2 separate regions of the Homo sapiens genome follow, and region 1 is linked to region 2. Evidence: promoter capture Hi-C in 16 types of primary human blood cells and fetal thymus (Javierre and others, 2016). All regions are on one chromosome and are shown on one strand. The core of a region is centred on a gene start or on the middle of the fragment in contact, and the rest is flanking DNA. Distances in the headings are between cores, read along the strand shown. Region 1 overlaps LINC03082 (long intergenic non-protein coding RNA 3082). Region 2 holds the start of MYO16-AS2 (MYO16 antisense RNA 2).

Region 1 (7,504 bases), core at 480-2,979, 1.0 Mb before region 2:
AAGTTGTAGAACTGTATACAGAATGTAATCCCCTAGTGTTTGTAAAAGGAGGCCACACACACACACACACACAAGCATATTAGTTTGTGTCTGGAAAATACACAACATGAGCTTGTATTAATCTAATAATATTACAACTACCCCATGATAAGAAACAAAAGTCAAAAAATTAAACGGAGAAAGAGTCTCCAGCATTTCTCTGGGCACTGCGCTTCCTCAAGCACCCCACTCTCTGGTCTGTTATTACCATCATCCTCCTCACACCAATACATAAACCCACTTCCTCATGACTGTCCTCCGTGCAAACCATGATAGAAGGTTTCCTGATCCTTGAAGGCATTAAATAGCCCTCATCACCTTTATTTCCAGACTAAATAGTTTAATTTCATCATCTAATTTCTCCTTAAAAACCTTAGTCATCTCCTTAGTTTTCTTGTGGAACTGTCTGTAGTTGTGCCAATTTAGAGATGTCAGGCTGAGGCATAATTAACTTCCCCGGATAGGTTCATGTTCTTAGGGTAGCTATGAATCAATGGTTAATCATGATTGCAGTGCTCAAGGTAATCATTGGCTGAGGTAGATATTCAATTGACAGGTAAAACAGGAGAACATTTTTTTTTTACCTTAAAAAAAGTGTGGTGTGAATAAAGAAATGAAAAGCATTTAGAGAGAGAGGTGAATGTTAAGGTTTTCAATAATCAGCTCTTGCCCACGAGCCTTGGCTGAGACAGGGCTTGACAGAGCCTCTGTACAGGGTTGATGTCCTGCGCCTGTGAGCCTGCACCCCAGGAGATCAAAGGTTCTGCAATGGGGAGCTCACGCTGATAAGATATTAAGACCATCTGTGAATCACTGATGTGGTCGGATTGCAAAGTATCAGCAAGGACAGCTGCCTCCACAAAGGAGCATGGATTCCCCAGGCTTTCCAGAGCCTTCTAAAAGACCTGCAGAAGAGAAACTAAAAGCACTGCTCTCTGCTCCAGTTGGGAGTGACAAGCCGCATGGGCAAGCATGAGTGCTTGCATGTACCTCTGTGTCCGAGACTGAGTGGAAGGGAGAAATTGAAGGGAACTCAGCCATGAGTAGATGTGAAGAAAGCACAGTTAGCATGCCAAATCTGAGTGCTTTCTTTCCTTTCACCATTCTTTCTGAAGTTCTTTCGTCACAAAAGATGTATTTACTCATTTTATTTGGGGAAAAGAGAAATATGGAGATAGGAGTTAGTTTCCGTGGAATTGTGCAAACCAGGTACAATTTTCATTTGGGTCCCGACTGTGTTGCAGGTAGCTTGGCAGATGCCCCAATGTAATAAAATCTGAATGCGGTTCTTCAACTTGGAATTCAGTGTTATAAGAATGAAAGAATTGTGAAGTATTGAAGCACAGCATGGGTGAATCATATGATGGCATAATGGCGGCTTGTAAACTGCTTTAGGCACACAGAGAAGGGGTAATCCAGGTATAAGCCCAACTTCCCTTGGGATTGGCAAAATTTCCTAGCATAGCTGAAGTAGTGGCTTATTCTTAGTGTTGGCCTGTTCTTTCTCCGAACTTTGCACTATCCTTTTATCATTTCTGCACTTAGTTTCTGTGTTAGTTATCTACTGCTACAAAAACAAATTTACTCCCAAGTTAGCAGTTTAAGCAACAACCAGTTATTGTCTCACATTTTCTATGGGTTAGGAATCTGGTAGAGGCTTAGCTGGGTGGCTCTGGCTCAGGGTCTTCCATGAGTCAAGGTGTTAGCCAAGGTTGCAGTCATCTGAAGGCTCCACCATGGCTATCACCCACGGCTATTGGCAGGAGGCCTCAGCTCTTTGCCACATGGGCCTTTCTGCAGGGCTACTTGAGCTTCCTCATGACATGGCAGGTGGCTTCTTCCAGAGCAAGCAATCTGAAAAGGGGAGGAAGCAGGGAGCCAAAGATCTTTTAATCCTATCTCAGAAGTCACACATCAGCACCTCCACCACATTCTAATTGTCAGAAGTGAATCTCGAAGTGCCTTGCACACGGAAGGGGAGGGAGCTGGGCTCCCCCTGTGAAGGGAGGGGTCCTGAAGAATTGGTGGACATAGTTTAAAACCACGGCAGCTTCCATGAGGTGGTCACACTCACTTAGTTGTTTGTGCATCCATTTATTCATCTCCCTATTTATCCAACACATTTCCATAAGTGCCTGCCAGATCCACAGCACAATGCCAAGTGCTAGGTAAGGGATGGGTGAGGCAAATAAAAAGGTAGTCCTGCTTCTCCCTCATCTGTCACCAACCCCGCATGCAGTGTTTAGGAAGATATAAGCAAGAGTAGTAGTTTAAAAAATATTTTAATATCTGCATGAGAATTTCTTAGAGGGATGGCGATGGTGTTGGTCTATGTTTCATTGAGGAACTATGTGGACAGTCACTTTCAGAGGGAAAGTAGGCTCCTGAGGGCCTCCTACATGCATGCTCCCCAGGAGCTGAAGCTGCTCTTCATGGAGGCGATCAGGTTCGAGTGCAATGCTGCAGAAGGCAGGCCGCTCACTGCCAAGGAAGGCACTCAGGTGAGCTTCAAAGGGCGCCTGGCCACAGGGAATTCTCACATTCAGCCCAAGCTGTCTGTGTTGCTATGATATCACCTTCTTCCCTATTTCCTGAAAACTTCCAGCTCACAGTGCCTTGTGTGAGAGAGTCCTCAAACTGTTGATCAGATTTGGGATCCCAGTGGAGGCTGGTGACCCTGAACTTTTGGAGATCCTGTCTGCTCTGTGCAGTGGATTGAATGTTTGAATCTTCCCTAACATTTGTATCTTGATCTTAACCTCCACGGTGATGGTATTATAAATAGTAAGTGGGGCCTTTGGGAGGTGATTAGGTCATGAGAATGGGCCCTGATGAATGGGATTAGTGACTTTATTAGACGGACCCCCAGAGAGCTCTTGCCCTCTTTTTACTATGTGAGGATTCAAGGTGAAGTTGGCCTTCTAGGACCCAGAAAAGAGACCTCACCAAAACTTGACCAAACTGGCATCTGAAATTTGGTTTTCCAGCCTTCTAAACCATGAGAAATAAATTTCTGTTGACGATAAGCCACCCAGTCTGTGGCAATTTGTTACAACATCTCAAATTAGCAAAGTCACTTTGGCACATTTTATAGTATAAAGTGAGGGTAGGCAAGGACTGAGCTGGTTGAGGTTTGTGAAGCAGGTGGGACAGGCACACAACCACACAAGGGAGGTGGGTCATCGTCAAGGAGATGGGGGTGGGGCATGTTGGGACACGGGCTCCAAGGAAAGCAGGACTCCAGATAGGCTACTTGATGGGGAGACAGTAGAGCAGGCAGTGGGTGGGACATTCAGAGAACACTGTAGAACTAGGAACAATGAAGGCAATGACGTGAGAGAACAGGAAATTACAATCAGAGATGGAAGTTTTAATTTGTGATATCACAGATTCAACATTCCTGGGTGGTCCAGGGTCTTCAGTATGGCCACGAAGTCAAAAGCTGAAAAGGAGCAGAGGTTAAGGTGATTAGGGATGAGGAGTTCACGTGGTTGAGAGGTGTTGGACACCAAGCTTGTGAGGGAGTTGAATCACTCAAGAGCCCAGCAGCACCCGAGGTGGAGACCACATCTGGTTCAGCACAGTGAGGGTCCACTGCCGGTGCTTTGGTGAGCAAAGGGAATAAGGGGGTAATGGATGAAAAATAGTGGTTGCATGGTGTCAAGGCCACATGGACTTTCCTCAGAGGCTGGAGGAGGAGGAGGTGTGAAGACATCATCTCCATATCCAGACTGGGGTCCCATGGTGTGAGGAAAAGGAGCAGACTTCTCCTGTCAGGGCTTTGGGACAGCTGGTTCTTCAGGGAGACAAGTCCTAGGGAACCCAGGCTGAGATCATGGGGAAGGTTGTGTTCATAGAATAGGAGCACCCAAGAGAACCATGGAAATGGTTGGAGATGCCAAAGGGAGCATTTTCTAGAATGGTCTTGAGTTGGGTACACAGAAGACATGGATAGCTCTGGCTTATGTCTGGTGTAACATCTGAAGAATAAAGTGTCCATCCACAGTGGGGGTGGTGGTGGTGGAGGTGCATCTTGTGGAGGACGGAGTGGGCCTGACAGTAGAAACACAGGTCTTCAACACTGGAGGGAAACTTGTTTGTCAATGGATTCAATTAAACCCAAACTTTCAAGTCAATTTATTGAAGTATGGTTGACATACACTAAAATTCACTCTTTTGAAGTGCAGAGATTGATGAGTTTTGATAAATGCGTATCTTGCATAACAACTACCACAATTGAGGTAGGAAAGTTTTCCATCATTTCCAACATTTCCCTCATGCAGTCAATTGCCCCCCTGACCCTCAGTGCCTGGTGGCTACTGACCAGATTTCCTTCACCCTAGTTTTGTGTTTTCTAGAGTGGTATAGAAATGTAACCATGCAATATGGTGTCCTTTGTGCTGGCTTCTTTTACTTCACATGATGTGTTTGATTTGCAGCCACCTGGTTCTGAGATTGTAGTCCTTTCCTTTTCATTTCTGAGCAGGATTCTGTGAAATGGACATACCACAGCATGTATAGGAATTCACCCATGAATGGATATTTGAATTGTTTTCTGTTTTGAGCTGTTATGAATAAATCTGGTATAAATATTTACATATGGGCCTTTGAATAGAAATAGGCTTTTCTTTCTCTTGGACAAATACCTAGAAGTGGGATTGCTGGGTCAAACATTAAGTGTAGTTTTTACTTTTAATAAAGTGCCAAAATATTTTTCGGAGTGGTTGTACCATTTTGCATATCCACCAGCAATGTGTGAGAGTTCCAGTTCCTCCACATTCATATCAACACTTGACATGGTCAATCTTCTACATTTTATACATTCTAGTAAATGTGTAGTGTTATTTCATGTAGTTTAGTATGCATTTCCTGAGTGACTAAATGTATTAAGCATATTTTAATGCATTTATTTGCCATCTTATTTGGTGAAGTGTATCTTCAAATCTTTTGCTCATTAAAAAATGACTTTTCCTTTCCTCCAACCCCTTCTCCCATCCTCCACCTCCTCCTCCTCTTCTTTTTTCTTTTTCTTGAATTACAAGGGTTTTTCATATATTCTTAGATACAAGTTCTTTATCAGATATGTAATTTTGCAAATATTTTCTCCCAGTCTGTAATTTGTCTTTTCATTTTCTTAATACCATCTTTTGGAGAGTATAAGTTTTTCAGCTTGATAAAGTTAAATATTTATTTTTTAAAATGTGTTTTTGCTTTTTGTGTCCTAAGAAGTCCTTGCCTATCTCAAGGCCAAATATATTTTTCCCCTATGGGTTTTCTTTCATATCCTTACTGTGTTGGTCAGGGCTTTCCTGAGGAACAGAACCAGTAGGAGATTATACCTATACCTATACCTATACCTATACCTGTCTTTATCTATGTTTATATCTGTATCATCTATATCTATATCCATACTATACATATATCTATATCATCTATATATATCTATATCTATATCTATCTCTATGTGTATATCTATGTCTAATCTATGTCTATGTTATAAGGAATTGACTTGTGTGATTATGGAGGCTAAGTCCCAAGATCTGAAGTTTGTGAGCTGCAGACCTCGAAGAGTTGATGACATGCTTCCAGTCCAAGTCCAAAGACCTGAGAACCAGGAGAGCCAATGGTGTTGTTCTAGTCCAAAGGCAGGGAAAAAAAACCCCAGCATCATAGTTCAAACGCAGCCAGGCAGGAGGAGCATTCTCTTATTTGGGGAGGGTAATCCTTTTTGCTATATTCAGGCCTTCCATTGTTTGGATGAGGCCCACTGCATTAGGCAGAGCCATCTGCCTTACTGAGCCCACTGATTTAAATGTTAAGCTCTTCCAAAAACGCCCTCATAAAAACACCCAGAATAGTATTTGACCAAACATCTGGAACCTCATGGCCCAGTCAAGTTGACACACAAAAATAATCATTGCACCTACTTTTCTATGAGAAATAAAACCACCTAGCCAGGTATGGTAGCTTGTGCCTGTAGTCCCAGCTACTCAGGAGGCTGAGGCAGGAGGATCGCTCGAGCAGCCCAGGAGTTCTGAGCTGTAGTGCCCTATGCTGATCGAGTGTCTGCACCAAGTTTGACTCAATATGGTGACCTCCTGGGAGCAGGAGACCACCAGGTTGACTAAGGAGGGATGAACTGTCCCAGGTCAGAAGTGGAGCAGGTCAGAACTCCTGTGATGATCAGTAGAGGAATCGTGCCTGTGAATAGCCACTGAACTCTCACCTGTGCCATATAGTGAGACCCTGTCTCAAAAAAAGAAAAAAAAATAAACAAACCCTGAAGCCTAGAGAGGTTCTCAAATCATCCAGGAAGTTCAAGAGGTTAGTAGCATAATTAGTATTAGAACGCAAATCTCTTGGCCCTTGGTTCTCTGCCCTAGTAATATCTATCATTTTTCTTTTATTCTGATACATAGAGTTTTTGGCTATACATGTTGCTGTCAGTCATTGACCTTTTACCCTTTCACCCTGGCTTTTGCATTTTACACATTTATGCACTGTGCCTCTTTGCTACGCTGAAGACACTTTGAGCCTTCATTCATTGTGTGTTGGCTCAGTTACTTGACCTCTGCTAATGTATGTTCATTTTTTGTGCTGCTTTTAAATCTGCTTCTCATGGCGACATGGTCCCCTTGCCACACAGTTGCTGGATTTATTCTCTAAGTGGTCATTTCTTTCCTGTCCTTCCAGTCTCTTTGGCCAGTAGGAGCACGGTCCTGCCTGGTATTAGTGCAAGTCTGTTGTCTCCATGATCGCCATGATTCACCTCTCAGCCAGGTCTCTTGGCTCAGTGCTATGCAAGTTTCCTCCTTTGCATCTAAGTCATTTTTAGAAGTGCTTCTCAAAGTGTGACCTGTAAAATCCTGTCGATTCTTGAACTGTTGGCTGTCTTTCTACAACAAGATGTAAGTATAGAAATTGAAAGTAAACATTTAGAAAGGTTTCCAGTAATCTGACATCATCATGACATCCAAGCACACATACCAAACTAGGTATTGTTGGATATGTGAGGTAGGTTGAGTGTGGCATGGGCTGTTTAGTAGCCCGGTAGTGCCACATGTTAGTTCACGAAGGCTTGGGAATTTATAAATATACAGATTATTCCTTTACCACACCTACTTTGAGAAGTACTGACCTATGCCTCTTTCAAGGCTTATAATAGTATTTTTTCTGACTCAATCAGAAAGGTGAAAGACCCTGAATGATGAATGAATGTGTTCTTTGTGTTATTTATCTGTAGATTCAGATTGTCCCACTCATGTTCCTGCTTCCTTTAAAGATTCTAGTAGTTCACCCCCAGACAGTCTGATTTCATAGGAGTAGGGGGGCCTGGGAATCTGCATTGCAGCCCCCATCCCCAGGGGATTTTGATGCAGGCATATGGAAGGTTCACACTTTGAGAAGAGGTGACCCACAGGAAGAAAAGAAAATGCTACCAGTGGCCTCCCAGTTGTCAGGATGT
Region 2 (7,512 bases), core at 1,766-4,265:
GCATGTTAAGGACTGCAATCTGAAGCGTAACAGAAGGTCCCAGGCACCATGGAGGAGAACAAAGCAGAGAAGAGGATGAGAAGATGCAGTACGAAGGTCGAGGATAGTGAGAATTTAAAATCTAGTAGCCAGGGAATGTCTCGCTGAGAATTGGCACGTGAGCAAAACTCGGTATACTGTAAACTGTGTGGATCTGCGGAATAGCCTAATAAACTGTTTTCAAACTGCCTTTGCTCTAGCTGCGAAGGTGCAGCGATGCTCCTTTGACATGCATTTCCACCAGCACCGCCTATGAGTTGCCCCCACCCCTGTCCTTTCCTCTGGATGGCCTGAGTCACATCTAGGTCTTAACCCTCAGAATTAGAATTGACATCAAATGCTTCCTGAGACTCTTCACTTGATTCCAGTTCTTCTCCTTCTCTATCGTCTCCTTTCCTTACTCCTCCTTTTCCTTCTCCTCTTGTTTCCAAGATGTAGTTGGGAATGAGGGTGCAAAGGCATTGTGCTATTTCAGGGTCAGTTTGATTGACAGTTTGGGTTGAAAAGGATTCTGATCAGAGTCACCCTGTAATGGGAAGTAGTCTGCTTGTTTTTCCTTCATTTGCTGGGTGAATTATAAACATAAAAAAGACACTGTACAAGGGGCAGGCTGCTCAGATGAATAAACGGTATAAGTGCCTTTGATCAAAGCTTGTACTGTGATGCATAATCTACCCCTTCCAAGTCCTGTAATATGAGCAAAATGACTTCAGATAGTTATATTAGAAGATACAGATTGAGTTAAATGCAGTGGAAAGAACATGACATAGGAAAAGCTAGACGTTGGTCTCAGCAAAGTGGCACTCCCACTGAAACTGAATATTAACTGCACCTAGTATTTTGATCAGTACACTGATCTCTAATTAAGACAAGGGCTCTCTGTGACGTTCCATTACCTCAAATCTAAAATAAGGTCACTCCTGTACGTGCTGTCTACTTTCCTTTTCTGCATAGAGTTATTAGGCTCAAATAAAATAAAATAAAAACTATGAATAGTTGTAATATACTCTGTAGATGAGAGGAATTATTTTTTATTAAATACTAAAAATTCCAGTACCTCATGTGCGACTACAAACCTGTGACTACCTAAAGCATGAAAAGCAGACACAGGTGCATAGATCGGCATACAAAAGTAATAGTACTGAAGATACCACATCTCTATCCTCATCTGAAACAGAAGGAAATCAAATGTGCACCAAGGCTTACTGAATTGCTACAATGTTGGAGAGTATAAGAATTACAGAGTTACCATCTCATATTGATGATTCAAGGCTTTCCTTCTACAGGGTCTGATTAAAGTTAAAGAGAGAAGAGAAAACCTGCCAGATCTCCAAGACGCATTAGAATGACAACGAAATTACTATTTTCAGTTAAAAGAAATGAATTTCTAGCTAACACTGTATACCACTTAACACAGCAAAATATAATTCTAATCACTTCTGTCCTCCAGCACTGCTTTTAAAAATATGGAAAAGAGTAACCATTCATTTCATGCTAACCACTCAGGACTAAAGGATGAACTGACTGGTTAATGAAAACACACATTATAACTCTTAGCAATTTGGAAATAATGCTACAGATAGAATAACCATCCGATACAACCTTGTTGTCCCTGCAGCCTAACAGCTTCTGATTGAATCCCTGTATTAATTAAAAACAGAATTGACTAGGAGGAATTCTTTCTGTAATTAGCAACACATATCTAAAAAATGCTTTGCTTTTGAAACTGAGGAGTCTAACTTTCCAGGTTAGGAATGAGTGTTTTTTGTTTTATTTATTTATTTTTTAACAAAATCTTTTTTTCCTTTGTCAGACCAATATAAAAGTGAAGTATGAATATGCTTCATTTCTGTGAAGTTGATTATTTGTCTGGTAGTATAAAGTATATCATAGGTTACATCGTGAAGAAGCTGAAGAAATACTGTCTTTTCTGACTAGACAACAGGGAACTCATAAGCAAATATACTCAGTGAATGAGCACATTTATTTCTCTTTCCTTTTAATTTTTTTGTCTTGTGTTTTCAGCTTCTTTTAGGCAGGTGAAAAGTGTGGAGAAAATAGATTAGTGCCATGAAATGGGATCCCTTTCCCATTTAAAATAAATTTTAATGCTCTTGTTGAAAGTCCCAATGTATGTTTCAATTTAATGCTATCCTCAGCTGCAATCCTAGCAAAAGCACCAATATAGAAGAAATGATGGCTGGCAGGGCTTACCAATTTGTCTTCTGGTCTCCTCTCATATTTGACCTGTACTTTACAGTGGTCTATCAGAGGGACCACTGCTCAGATATTGTGGTTACTGCCAATCACTCTCTTAGTGAAATAATTATTACAGATTCCCTTGCTTTCTTCTACAAATAAAAATTCTCCCTCTCTCTCTCCCTCATACACATACATCTATCTCACAGATATATATATATATATACACACACACACACATATACATATATACACATACATATACATATATGTATATCATTATCTGTAAGTAGTCTTTAAAAGCAAAATAATACAATAAGAATATCTTAGTGTTACATCATCCGTGGACTACTACTATATAATTACTTATTCAAAATCTCAGTAATGATTCCATTGAACTGACTTCAGTTACCTATAGACAGAATAAATGCTGATATATGTGAATCCCACCCCTATGTCACTGACTCTGGAGGGGTTGGCAGACATCACTTTTGGTTAGTAATTCCTCCTTCTTCCTCCTTCCCTTTTTATCCAATCTTTTGGCACTGATGTGCATCACTGACAACTTCAGACTGAGTAAGCTTCCTCCTTCAGATTGTTATTTAAAGTTCAAATTTCATTATTAGTTAAAAAAAAAAGAAAAGGAAAAAAGATAACAAAGAAAAAGATTGGGTGGCACAGACAATTAAATCATTACTCATCAATGCCAAAATTCTAGGTTCTTTGTTCTTTGTCATAGACAGATGAGTGTGCGAGTGTCAATCCAGTCTTCCCTCCCTGTTTTACTTAGACTGGGCCACTTTTGGACCTATTCAGCAATTCTGAATCATCAGCTCATGTCATTTCTAAAGCCAAGTCCCCATCCTTTGACTCATCAATTATCATATATTTTTACTCATAGATATTCTCCCTATCACTTTTTAAAGATGCAATTTATGTCTACTTTCCAGTAATCGTCATATTTTTATCAAAGCTTTTAGCTACCATTTGTTTTTGCCACCTATGCACTTTTGGTGGTTTTACAGCAAGAAACTTCCAAATAATTTCTGGTGTCATGGACTGCGTGGTTTCCCATTGTTGCTCTAATCTGCCCTTCTCACTTCAAACCTCTACTTCCTAAAATGAGTCAAGGATGGACTCTGATGTTGTTGAAGGTATTTACAAAATCTGGAACCATCTTCTCCTGTTTCTGGTAAACATTTGCCTGTAATTTTGTCTCAGGTTATTTTCTTTTTCTGCAAGTCTAGCTGTAGCTTTCATTGGCCCCTAGGGTCTACCATTCAAATGGATCACAGACTATAATAAAGTGTTTCCAATTATGAAGCTTTTGCCAACAAATGGGCTTCAAAGGATGGTGACATTTTCACTGTATGGCAGGTGAGAAGCAGGGCAAAGAGAAACAGAAAAAAAGGGGAGCTGACTGAGACGTGAACGAGCTGGGGAAGTCCAGGTTGAACATGCACTTATGAGAGACCAACTCTGCACAAAGAAATCAACCTTAGTTCTTCAATTTTGGCTCCTCTGACTCCTGCTATGGGTAAATATGACAAAATGCTTTACTGACAAGGTATGAATCTGACACACGGGCAAACAGAATGGGGCTCATAAGCTTCTGTCATGTTGTAAAGGGAGCCTGTTAGATTTCCTCTCATGTTGGCTGCAAGATGTTAAAATCGGTAAGTCATAAAGAATGACAAATTTCCAGGGAATACACTTAATGTCACGCCTTGCCAAACACATCAAAGGAATTTGTTTTTGCCAGGAAGATTCTGGTGGCTCCCTGCAATGACTCAGCTCATTTATTTAAAATCCTAAAATGTTATTTTCATAGCTTGTAGGTCACCAACCTGCCAGCCTTGTAATTTACACTGCTGGAGAACAAGTCGACATCGCTCGGCAGCTGACTGTTCCTTCTTCTCACGCAGGAATGTATCAGCCAGTGGCTTATACCTGTGAAAAGCAGCAGAGACAGAAAGCAATGACTGCATTTGCCAAGCACATGATCACATTCAACAGGGCTGTCTTTGTTACATCGTTTCCCAAAAGTTTCCCCGTCTTTCTTTATCCCAGGAACAGCCAAATACCTGTCCATTGTGCATTTACTAGGGAACTGGAAAGAATCCTTATCTTTTATAAGGGAAATGGTTTTTACAACGCGTCAAATATATTTTTCAGTCCTCTAATATATGTTTAGCACTGTCATGAAGCACTTCAAACCATTTAACCAAAGGAAATTTGAAAGGAATGAAAATTAATCCAGTAGCCATTTTTAAACATTTGGCATGCTCTTTAAAAACATACCTCTTAAGAAATTTGAGCATTCTTTATGGCCACTTAAGCGTGAATTCAGATGTAACTAGAGTCCATAATAATGGAATACCAAAACGTCCATTCAGAATACTTATTTGAGAGGTAGAATCGCTTCTTCCCCATATATTATATATCGAATATTTCAAATATTCTGGGACATTTTTATTTTGTAAAGTATCAGTGAGCAATTGACTTTCATTCCCTAGCTGAAATTCATGGCAATATAATAGTTTCCTACAGGTTTTTCAAAAATGACTTTTAAAATTACATCATCCATTTAAAAAAAATCTATGTAAAATTCCCTTTGCACTTACAGTGGTTAACCTGAGATACAGGCAAGGTTGCAATGGAGGAGGAGGAAGAGGAGAAAACCAGAAAGGAAATGAGCAAAGATCTATGCAGTTGCATCCTGTTGCCTTCTGTGTTTATGATTCTCATGTTCGGCTGTTCCGCAAGCCGAAGGAAACGCAATGCCAAAGCTGAAGTCATCAGTTTTCTGTTATTTTCTGTTTAATACCTTAGTGTTTCATCTAAAGTTCACTGCAGTAAATTTGGTATCTTCTAAAATGAGTTTATTCAGTTTCCTTAGTGCAATTAAGGGAGGGAGTGTTTTGCCTACACATCTTTATTTACTTGCTTTCCTCAGAGCAAGTAGTGGGAGTATGGGACATGTCTCATGGACAGCCACATGGGAATCACACGTGTGTCTTATTTTGGCAGGTACTGTGGGTAAACGAGGGCTCACATGTGCGGCAGTACAGTCTGGTGTGTAACATAGGCTGGGAAACACACCTGCCATGGATAGAATGTATCTCAAGGTCCCTACGTTCAAATCCTAACCCCCAATATGATGATATTAAGAGGTGGGGCCTTTGACAGGTGATTAAGTCATGAGGGTGGAGCTTTCATGAATGGGATTAGTGCGCTTAGAGGAGGCTGAAGAGAACAGACTTATTCCTTCCTATTAGGTCAGTGTAAATGTAATTGTGGTTTTCGCATTGTTGAAATTTGCCGTTTGATATTGGAATACATTCTTAAATAAATGTGGTTATGCTATACATCATGTTAGTGTGCATTTCTTGCTTTATGTTTTTTGCGAATGACTTATTACTTGCTGTTTATTTTATATTTATTTTAGCCTATGAGAATAATGTTAGATAAAAAGCAAATTTGAGCGATTTTCTTATTTGGGTTCCAAATGGGTCACAAAAGAGCAGAGGCAACTCACAACACCAACAATGCATTTGGCTCAGGAGCTGCTAATGAACATACAGTGCAGTGGTGGTTCAAGACGTTTTGCTAAAGAGACGAGAGCCTTGAAGATGAGGAGTGCAGTGGCTGACCATTGGAAGTTGACAATGACCAACTGAGAGCAGTCATCGAAGCTGATCGTCTTACAACTACATGAGAAGTTGCCAAAGAACTCAAGGTCGAACATTCTAGGGTCGTTTGACATTTGAAGAAAATTGGAATGGTGAAAAAGCTTGATAAGTGGGTGACTCATGAACTAAGTGAGAATTAAAAAAATGTAGTTTCAAAGTATTATTTTCTCTTATTCTATGCAACAACAATGAACCGTTTCTGGATCAGATTATGATGTATGACAAAAGTGGATTTTATATGACAACCAGTGATGACCAGCTCAGTGGTTGGACCAAGAAGCAGCTCCAAAGCACTTCCTAAAGCCAAATTTGCACCAAAAAAGAGGTCATGTCACTGTTTGATGATCTGCTGCTGGTCTGATCCACTACAGCTTTCTGAATCCCAGCGAAACCATTACATCTGAGAAGTATGCTCAGCAAATCGATGAGATGCACGGAAAACTACAACGCCTGCAGCCGGTATTGGTCAACAGGAAGGGCCCAATTCTTCTCCATGACAACGCCCAACAACACGTCACACAACCAAAGTGGAAAGACTTGGGCTATGAAGTTTTGCCTCATCCACCATATTCACCTGACCCCTTGCCAACCATCTACCACCTCTTTAAGCACCTCGACAACTTTTTGCAGGGAAAATGCTTCTGCAAGTGGCGGGATGCAGAAAATGCTATCCAAGAGTTTGTCGATTCTCAAAGCACAGAATTTTACACTACAGGGATAAACAAAACTTACTTCTCATTGGCAAAAATGTGTTCATTGTAATGGTTCCTATTTTGATTAATAAAGATGTGTTTGATTCTAGTTATAATGATTTAATATTCACGCCTGAACCGCAATTACTTTTGCACTAACCTAACACCATGTGAGAACACAGTTCATAGAGAGAACAAGAAGGTTCTCTCTCCAAACCAGGAGGCGAGCTTCCACTGAATACTGAATTTGCTGACAATTTGATCTCGGACTTTCCACCCTCCAGGACTATGAGAACTTTCTGTTGCTCATGAGCCACACAGTCTATGGTAATTTGGGAAAGCAGATTGAACTGACCAAGACAGTACCCAGTTACCTTCTCAGCTGAAGACATTTCTTATTTCCTTTCTTAAATCCTCAGCATTCTCACTGAAAAGTCAGTGTATGACTTTTCCTGGATTGAGAATCCTCATCATCTTGCTAGCCAAAAACCAGAATGAATTTATCAGTATCAGCAACCACCCTTTCTTCTCATAGATGGATTTTTGCTCATGTTTCAAACTTAGTGTATAGGAAAGCATAAAAATACAAAAAATGGTAAGTAACAGAGACTGAGGCTGAAGTAACTGAGACTGAATTTGCAGTGCCAGAGGCAAGGATATGAAAAAGGTGGCTCATTATTTTACTCACACTAAATGGACTTCAGTGATTTGTTGATGGGTGAAGTATTCAGGAATTGTTTTGCTTTTGATAGGTGACAAGAATGTGATTTCTTACACGCCGTGTACTGAAGTTGGTAGCTGTGTGTTTTATTTTATTTTACTTTATTAATTTTTATTGGGGTTTCTGCAGAAGAAGAAAGGGAATTTCCCCTGTACAACAGAGCAGGGCA

The links. Contacts are between HindIII fragments. The CHiCAGO score rates a contact against its expected background, and 5 or more counts as called.
Region 1: a contact is called between a fragment that was not itself captured here and the fragment with the promoter of MYO16-AS2 in region 2, in 3 of 17 cell types (fetal thymus, M0 macrophages and megakaryocytes). The highest score is 6.3, in fetal thymus.

Annotation. Positions count from the first base shown.
Region 1 is chr13:110,096,640-110,104,143 of GRCh38, reverse strand. All of the region lies in intron 1 of LINC03082 (long intergenic non-protein coding RNA 3082), which reads left to right. It also overlaps the pseudogene RN7SL783P. Among named protein-coding and RNA genes, the nearest start is that of LINC03032, 21 kb to the left of the region's middle. The HindIII fragment of the contact is 3,651 bases long and covers 1-3,554 here.
Region 2 is chr13:109,097,461-109,104,972 of GRCh38, reverse strand. MYO16-AS2 (MYO16 antisense RNA 2) reads left to right here and starts at 3,015. Exons shown (of 3, transcript NR_046538.1): 1 at 3,015-3,430; 2 at 3,616-3,775; 3 at 4,164-4,418. MYO16 (myosin XVI) reads right to left here. Exons shown (of 35, transcript NM_001198950.3): 28 at 4,086-4,188. RefSeq lists an enhancer at 3,324-4,523. The HindIII fragment of the contact is 392 bases long and covers 2,822-3,213 here.